Regions from separate parts of the Homo sapiens genome. Here regions 1 and 2 are each linked to region 3. The links are contacts of gene promoters, found by promoter capture Hi-C in human tissues and cell types (Jung and others, 2019). All regions are on one chromosome and are shown on one strand. The core of a region is centred on a gene start or on the middle of the fragment in contact, and the rest is flanking DNA. Distances in the headings are between cores, read along the strand shown.

Evidence for each region. The method cuts DNA at HindIII sites, captures the fragments that hold promoters and counts their contacts. A contact is called where the count stands out against the background at its distance.
Region 1: a fragment that was not itself captured here is called in contact with the fragment with the promoter of MESP1 in region 3 in 1 of the 25 tissues and cell types used here (hippocampus).
Region 2: a contact is called between a fragment that was not itself captured here and the fragment with the promoter of MESP1 in region 3, in 1 of the 25 tissues and cell types used here (liver).

Annotation. Positions count from the first base shown.
Region 1 is chr15:89,565,085-89,567,855 of GRCh38, forward strand. No RefSeq gene overlaps it. Among named protein-coding and RNA genes, the nearest start is that of TICRR, 9.0 kb to the right of the region's middle. The HindIII fragment of the contact is 8,051 bases long and covers 1-2,771 here.
Region 2 is chr15:89,962,250-89,965,121 of GRCh38, forward strand. No RefSeq gene overlaps it. Among named protein-coding and RNA genes, the nearest start is that of ZNF710, 38 kb to the right of the region's middle. The HindIII fragment of the contact is 7,091 bases long and covers 1-2,872 here.
Region 3 is chr15:89,749,596-89,752,603 of GRCh38, forward strand. MESP1 (mesoderm posterior bHLH transcription factor 1) reads right to left here and starts at 1,654. Exons shown (of 2, transcript NM_018670.4): 1 at 914-1,654; 2 at 280-632. The coding sequence starts at 1,636. The coding sequence ends at 549. It also overlaps the pseudogene MRPL15P1. RefSeq lists silencers at 925-1,214, 1,275-1,704. The HindIII fragment of the contact is 13,666 bases long and covers 1-3,008 here.

The sequences.
Region 1 (2,771 bases), core at 66-2,565, 180 kb before region 3:
TACAGGTGTGAGCCACCGGGTATCCATAACAAAAAGAGAGAGAGAGAGAGAGAAACTTGATCTATAATTAAAATTCAAAAGTTAAAAAGAAAAACAACGAACTCATGTTGTCAGCCAGCCCATATCTATCTCACATAGTTGGAACAAGGACTGGACATGTGCAATAAACACTATCATTTATAGGGTGGAAGAAGAGGAAGAACACTACACTCACTGGGCCACAGCATACCAAGATCCTGGCAGGGAGATATTTTGAGCTCCCTTGATCTAAGGGTAGTTTTTACCCCTGAAGAGGCCGGTTTCTGCTCTCTGACCATAGCTATCCATGCCAGATCCTCAGTTTTTCCTTATCTTGTCTGACTTCATTTGTAGGGCCATTAGGGGTTATGGCTTTCTGGGGGTCTTACCATCTATTACACCCTACGTGGGATTCTGGTGGTCCAAGTTCATTATTTTTATGCAAACAAAGACTCTTTTCCTCAGTTCAAGCTTTTATAGTTCTTTTTTTGTGTGTGAGTTTTCTAGTGTACACACACACTCACACACAGACCATTTAAAAATCTATTTGATTGCATTTAGCTCCAAGCGTAATTAAACCTCTCCTCAACTCATTCTGGCTATTCTTTCTTTTTTTTTTTTTTTTTTTTTTTTTTTTTTTTGAAAAGGGGTCTTGCTCTGTTGCCCAGGCTGGAATGCAGTGGCGCTATCTCGGCTCACTGCAAGCTCCGCCTCCTGGGTTCATGCCATTCTCCTGCCTCAGCCTCCCAATGGGACTACAGGCGCCCGCCACCACGCCCGGCTAATTTTTTGTATTTTTAGTAGAGACGGGGTTTCACCGTGTTAGCCAGGATAGTCTCAATCTCCTGACCTCGTGATCCGCCCGCCTCGGCCTCCCAAAGTGCTGGGATTACAGGCATGAGCCACCGTGCCCGGCCCATTCTCGCTATTCTTTCTTTTTCTCATCTTAATTAAAATATCTTGAGTTTACTAGTTGGCTGGGACACAACACTCGCCACCTCGCCACACTTGTTTTTTGTTTTTTTTTTTCTGGAGCAGTTTAGCCAACTGAAAACAATTTCAATCCAATCACTGATGTAAACCGAAGGTATGAGAGCCATAACCCAGGTTCGATTTTTGCTTTTTTACAAATATGCTTTTCAGGGGTAGAAATTCCATGCTATTAGGCTGTTCTTAAACTTTTCCATTAGAAAAATGCCATAGGAATGCAGAAAAGGGTGTGGTAATTCCGCCTGGGGAATTCAGGAAGAGCGAGAGAGAAGCTACAGCCAGGCCCCTCAACACAGCCAGGGCCTTTCTCATGGCTGCCTGGCCAACTCGCCTTCCACTCTCCGGAGAAGCTGCTTTAACCTTCTCCTCTTTCCCCCAACTCCTACTCCTCCAACTCCCCGCTCACTCAGTCTTGCCTCCTTCCTCAGAGAAAGTTAAAACTATCAGATGGGACACCCTCAAGCTCAGGTCATCCTCCTCATGTAGATTTTTAACCCCTTACAGCTCTGCATAGCCATAAGCTGACCCCATCTCCCACCCTTCCTCAGCCTTCCTAGTGTGTCTTCTGGAATTTGCAGTGCACCCCTACACAAACCCACTGTGCCCTCCGCCTTCACTCTGAATATTCCCTTCACCTTCTTGCCTTGCAGGAAAACTGGCTGATGCCTGCAGGCAACCCTTCCCCTATGGCCTCCTCAAATGAGGGCTATTTTCCCTCTCATGATCCTCATTCCAGTTGGCCTGAGATAGGGGTAGCTGTCCTCCCTTCCGGTCCTCCATAAACCCCCAGCCTTTTTGAAACAATTGACATTAGGCCACACCCTGCCTCTTTGTCACAGTCCTCTTCAGGTCTCTTCCTCATTCACTAAGTATTCTGGTCACGGCTAACTGTGTCTCTCTGCCACTGCCCCATCATCATTCTTCATACCTTCCTAGCACCCTGGGATCTGTGCAAACGATCCATCCAACACCTCAACTCCCAGCATGACAATCTCCCCCAATGTCCCAGCCTCCCTTGCAGCTAGGAGTAGCCATGTGACCCATTTCAGTCAAATGGGATGGAAGTCAAAATCTGAAAGGAGGGCTGGTTTCTATGAAAGCATTGCCTTCCAGGGTGTATGCAGCTTCCCTGGGTTAATGAGCCTGTGTAAACGGGAGAACAGCACAGTCATTGGCCCTGACACAACTGAACCAATGACCCTACACCAGCAGCCACCTATCTTCAATCTACTTCAGCCACTCTGGTCCAATTTCCTGCCTTCACAGCTGAAAGAATTCCTAATAATTTCTCATCAATACTGCCTGTCCCTGGGTCCCATCCTCAAGCCACTCACCCTCCTCTTTTCACCCCTGTTCCTGCCCAAATCCTAGTGTGTCTAAGGCTGCTAGTTATTCCTCAATATCCATTCTCCCCTTCTCTCTTTTGTAACAGAACCCTAAAATTGTCACAGAGCCGACCCCGGACCCAGCTACTGCACTGCCACAGTCCTCTTTCTCCCCAACGCTGTTTTTCTATCAGCAGCTTTTCATTTAATCTCTGTCATTTCCAACCAAGTACAAACACACTGCAACATCTCCTGCAATATTCTGATGTTAACAAAACATCAAACACCCTTTCCTAAACTCCTCATGTCCCCTAGCTACCACCTCATTTCTCAGCTCTCCTTTTTATATTAAAAAAAAAAAAAAAGCTCTGCTCAAGAGAGTGGCCTGTCCTCATTGCCTTCCTCTCCTCATACCCCCTCTGCCAGTGCCCTGATCCC
Region 2 (2,872 bases), core at 371-2,870, 210 kb after region 3:
ATCGTGGTTCACTGCAGCCTCACCCTCCTGGGCTCAAGTGACCCTCCTGCCTCAGCCTCCTGAGTAACTGAGACTACAGGCGCATGCCACCATGTCCAATTAATTGATATTTTGTGGAGACGGGATCTACCTATGTTGCCCAGGCTGGTTTCCAATTCCTGGGCTTGAGTAATCCTTCCACCTCAGCCTCCCAAAGATTATAGGCGTGAGCCACTGCACCTGGCCAATTTTTTTAATTAAAGGAAAATATAACAATAAAAACAGATAATTAAGGATACGTGAAAGGAAACCAGAAAGCTTGAAAGGTTTGAAAGGATAAACGAGAAAATGAAACCATTTAGTAAGGAAAAATAATTCGGAACAATACAAATCAGAACGGTAAGATATACTAAAATAGGCCAGGTGTGGTGGCTCGTGCCTGTAATCCCAGCACTTTGGGAGGCTGAGGCGGACAGGTCATCTGAGGTCGGGAGTTCAAGACCAGCCTGACCAACATGGAGAAACCCCGTCTCTACTGAAAATACAAAATTAGCCAGGCATGGTGGCACATGCCTGTAATCCCAGCTACTCGGAAGGATGAGGCAGGAGAATAGCTTGCACTCGGGAGGCAGAGGTTGCGGTGAGCCGAGATTGTGCCATTGCACTCCAGCCTGGGCAACAAGAGCGAAACTCCATCTCAAAAAAAAAAAAAAAAGAGAGATACTAAAATAATCTAAAAGAATCAGCTAAGATATTAAGAGTAATAGTCAGGCACGGTGGCTCATGCCTGTAATCCCAGCATGTTGGGAAGGCCAAGGCGGGAGGATTGCTTGAGCCCAGGAGAGTTTGAGACCAGCATGGGCAATATGGAAAAACCCTGTCTCTACAAAAAATACAAGAATTAGCCAGGCATGGTGGCATGTGCCTGTAGTCCCAGCTACTCAGGAGGCTGACATGGAAGGATCACTTGAGCCCAGGAGGTCAAGGCTGCAATGAGCTATGATCCCGTGCCACTGCACTCCAGCCTGGGCAACAGAGTGAGACCCTGTCTCAATAATAAAGAAAAAAAAAAGAAACCACTAGAAAGCATTCAAGTGGGGAGCCTTACCCAGGCCTTGCAGACAGGAGGCCCCGGCTAAGGCCCAGAGCATTCTCTTCATCACGGGGCCCTTCACGGGGTTCCCTGAGAGGGAGATCACAGCTCTTTGGCAACTTTGTGGCCACCCAGCAGTCAAGGCTTCACCTTCTGAGTTCTTCCACCCTATTTCAGTCACATGGGCATTTGCCTAACACCCTGAGGACCGCAAACTCTTCAAGGGCCAGTGCTGGGCTGCCACATGCTCATGTTCCTGCTTTATCTATAACTTCCCCATTGCTTGCCTCTGACCACCTTGAGCCCTTCCAGGCTCCACATCTGGGCATCTTCAAATCAGGCCTGCAGTCCAGGCCCCTGTGCAGACTGAGCAAGTCACCTCACCCATGTGAGCCTCAGCTGCCACCCCACTTTAGGGAGGTTAGTTACGCAGATCAATCAGATGATGTTTGCCAAGTGCTGGGCACACAGTAGGGCAGTTAACAGATGTCTAGGGAGGAGGTGACTATGACTGGCATTCCATCCTGCAAGTATGGCATGTAAAATGTAGCACAGAAATTCAGGATTCTACCCTGCCCAGGTTCCATGTGCCCACTGCTCTGCCCTCCCACAGTGACAGACCTCTCATAGCAGCAACTGCCCTTGGCCTACAGATCAAAGAATGCCATGGACTGCCGCATGCTAACCCCAGGACAGCCAAGGAGACTTCTTGGGCAGGAGAGAATGGGATTCTGCAAACACAGAGGGTACCCTGAGACTGGCAGTGAGCCCTCAGCAGTCCCCCTCCCTACGCACACCCTAGACCCCAGAATATAGGTCCCTGGCTGAGCCTTCGGCGGGCTCTGTTGGGGCCCTGAGTTGTCCGTGGGACACGCACTGGTGGTTATCAGTTAATATTAGGGCAATGCTCCTCCCTAAATTACAAATGAGCCCTCAAACTTATAGCTGTGTTCAGCCCAGGAATGGCATTGCTGGTAAGATCAACAAAGTTTGTCTGGGAGTGAGAGTACTGTTTCTCAAACTGTAATATGTACATGATCATGGAGGATCTTGTAAAAATGCAGATTCTAATTTAGTAGGTCTGAGTGAAGCCTGAGATTCACATTTATAAGAAGCTCCTGACTGATCCTGCTGCTGCTGCTGCCCCAGGAATCACACTTTGACTGGCAAGCTGCTAGACAATGCCCCCATACCTATGAAATCACTGGACTGGAAGGGACTCCAGAGACCACATTTCCTGCTTCCCATTGAGGACAGTAATTCTTCCTGCAGCATTTCTGATGGTGGGACAGGGCCTGGCATGCACCAGGTGCTAAGTAGATGTTAGCTGGCCTGAAATAAAATTATTTCCAGGAACAGGAAGCTCTTCTGGTACAGGCAGCTCTCTCATGGTTAGAAAGCTCCTTCTGTTGAGCCAACACAGGCTCTCTTAAAGTGCCACCCACTGGCCTTGGCACACCCCACACCGCTCCATCCACCGGGCACTGTGGCAAAGTGCCAAGGTCTAACAAAATGTTTGCAACCTAAAAAACAACCAACAAGAAGACAGAAAAGATTGACTCCGAAAAATAAAAATGGCACAATCACAATAAATGTTAACTGTCTGCAAAATGTAACACTTGCCAAATAGGCAATGGCAATGTGACTGTTATGTTGTTAGATATAGATTCTATTTAATTGTGGGTACAGATGCATTTTAACATGCTTCGTGTGACCTGGGGTGGGGCCTCCAAAAGTAAATGTGTCTGTGGACCTCAAAGATCTTAAATGTCCCTGTACCATCTTCCTCAGACTCTTAGA
Region 3 (3,008 bases), core at 404-2,903:
AGATATTTTGGTTTTAACCAGTTCCCCACCAGGTTCAAAGAAAAGATGAGCAGATTCTACTTGCCGCTGCCTTCTCACAGGACGTCCCTCCCCACCCATTCCAGGCTGACCCATCTGGACTAGATGCTGAGCCAGGGCTGGGGGTAAGGCCAAAGGGGTCTGGGCCTGTGGGGGTCGGGGGGCTAAAGATTGCAAGAACCCCTCCCACCTCTCCCATGCTCTTCTTTGGAGGGAGAGAGGGAGCTCTGTGTCCACGGGTAGGAAGAAGAAATTGCCAACTGACACCAGTACAGTTTATTCACAAATAAATAAATTCACATTAGGCAGAGCCTCCTGCTTGCCTCAAAGTGTCTAGCCCTATGGGTCCCTCCATGGAGGGAGGGGCTGAGAAGGGCCGCCGCGGTGGGGACGGCTCTCACCCGCAGGAATGCCCCCGTCGGGATCGCCCGTGCCCTCTTCCAGGAAAGGCAGTCTGCCAAGGAACCACTTCGAAGGTGCTGAGGCCAAAAAGCCTCGGTGCTCACAGAGACGGCGTCAGTTGTCCCTTGTCACTTGGGCTCCTCAGGCAGCCACTCCAGAGGCGAGAGGGGCATCCAGGTCTCCAACAGAGCCAGCACGTCGCCCGGAAGGAGCTGTAGGGAGAGACGGAACAGCGCAGCCCTCAAGCACTGGTGGCCTTGTGCGGGTGTCCGCGCTCGTGGGCTCCACTCTCAGGGGGCCCCTAGCGAGGGGAGACCCAGTCCTCTGCGTGGCCTTTCCCTGCCTTCGCTTCTTGGAGCCCTGGGCATACTATGGTGGCCAGGTGGCCAGGCTGCCGGCGGGGAGCAGCAGGGTGCCTGGTCCTCACCTTGGCGGGCGGTGGGGCTGTGCGCGGGGGCACGGACGAAGGGGGCGCGGGGAAGGGGACACTAACCGGGGACGGTGGGCTTGGCTCCATCGCCTGCCCTTCAGGGCACGCCGCCTCGGCGAACAGCGCAGGCGGGTCGCGCGGCTCGGGTGCAGCTCGGGCTCCGGGGCAGGCAGGCGGGGATCCCCAGGACGCCCCGGCGCGGACGGCGGATACCAGGCCCAGCCCGCGCCCCTGCCCCTGCCCCTCAGCCTGCGTCCGTGTCTGCATCTGCGCGGGGCAGTCGTCGGGGCACAGCGGGCAGCCCCGAGGGGACCCCGCGTCACCGCGCTGCCGGCACCGGCGCTGGAGACTCTCCTCGCTGAGGCCTAGCACGGCCGACAGGTGGCCGATATAGCGGATAGCCAGGCGCAGCGTCTCGATCTTGGTCAGGCTCTGGCCCGCGGGCGCCACGGACGGCGGTAGAAAGCGGCGCAGCTCGTGCAGGGCGCGGGCCAGCGTGCGCATGCGCAGTTTCTCCCGCTCACTGGCGCTCTGCCTCTGCCCGCTGCCCAGGCGGCTGCTGCGCGCGCCGCGCCTACCTACGGAGGGGGCGCGGGGGTCCCGGAGGGTGCCTGGCCGCGCGGGGCTCGCCACGGGGCTGTCGGCTGGGGTGCTGCCCCATGAGTCTGGGGACGAGACGAGGGAGCGGCCGCAGTCCTTGTCGGAGGGCGGCGGCCGCCGAGTTGGGCCCCAGGCCGCAGAGAGCATCCAGGACTCGGAGAGCGGCGGGCACAGGGGCTGGGCCATGGCAGCGGCGGCGCGTCTGGGGGCCGGCGGCCGGCGGCCGCTTTATGCCGAGCCCGAGGTGTGAAGTGGCCCCTTCCAGGCCGCATCAGCACATCAAAGTGGGCTCGGGGCTTGGAGGGGGCGGAGCCTGACCCTTTGAATCCACGGCGGGGGGCCAAGGTGCCAGCCCCTTGACTGCGCCTGTTTCGCCCCACCTGGGCCCTCGCTTGGGCGCCCGACCCAGCCTCTCGGCCTTCCCGCCTGCGCCCAGTGTTGGGTGAAGCCCGGGGCGTTGGGCCAGCCCTGCAGGTTAAAGGAAGCGGGGTCAGAAAAACGAAATCTAGATCCTAGGTTTGGGGCCTGCCTTCACCTGTTGGGGACCTTATGCAAATTCTTAGTTCTTTTGCACCTTAGCTTCCAATTTGTATAATGAGAGCCTCAGGGCATGCGCCAATTGGACAGTGGAGTAGAGTAAGGACCAGGAGCAGGGACCCTCATTCCCTCTAAAGGTGGAGAAAACAGTAAACCACTTCTCCTTTGAGGCAGGATGGCCCTGGGTAGACCCTTCCCTGGTAAGAACATGTGGACAGTGCAAGGAAGCTTGCACCCCGGCAAATTCAATAAGCTGCCGAGTCTGGTCAGGATGCTGGACCTTCTGAGCAGAGGGAGGGGGTTAAGCCTGCTCCAACCCCAGGCCACCTCTAGCCTGGCAAGGTCTGGAGCTTGGCCTGTTGCCACAGCTGTCACCACTGGCCTTTACCTGATGTTCTGCCGCTATTGGACAGGTATAACAGGTTTTCCCAATGAAATGTGAGTGGAAATGACGCAGCAAAGGCATTTGACAAAATCCAACACCCTTCGTGATGAAAATTCTCAGCAAACTAAGAATAGAGAGGAATTTCATCAACCTGATGAAAGGCTCCTACAAAGAACCTACAGGTAGCCTCATACTGAGTAGTGAAAGACTGAAATCTTCCCCCCACCCCCCGATTGCAGGAACAAAGCGAGGGTGTCTCTCTTACCACTCCTATTCAACATTGTACCAGATGGAGGATCTAGGCTATGCAATTAGGAAACAAAAGACATACAGGTCAGAAAGGAAGAAATAAAACTCTTTTCGCAGGTTATGGCAGCTCTGGGCCCTGCTGCGCATGAGCCTGACCAATTTAAAGCGGAATCCTGGCTCCAGGAAACCCATGAGACGACCAAAAGGTCGGAGAAGAGGTAGAAAATGCGGCAGAGGCCATAAAAGAGAAAGGCAGAGAGGAAACTGGCTCTGCTGGGCTTTGGGGATGGCCAGACTCTATTTTACATCGGAATCCCAAAATACAGATTTAATGAAGGACTTAGCTTCAGACACCAGTATCAACCTTTAAGTATCAATAGACTGTAA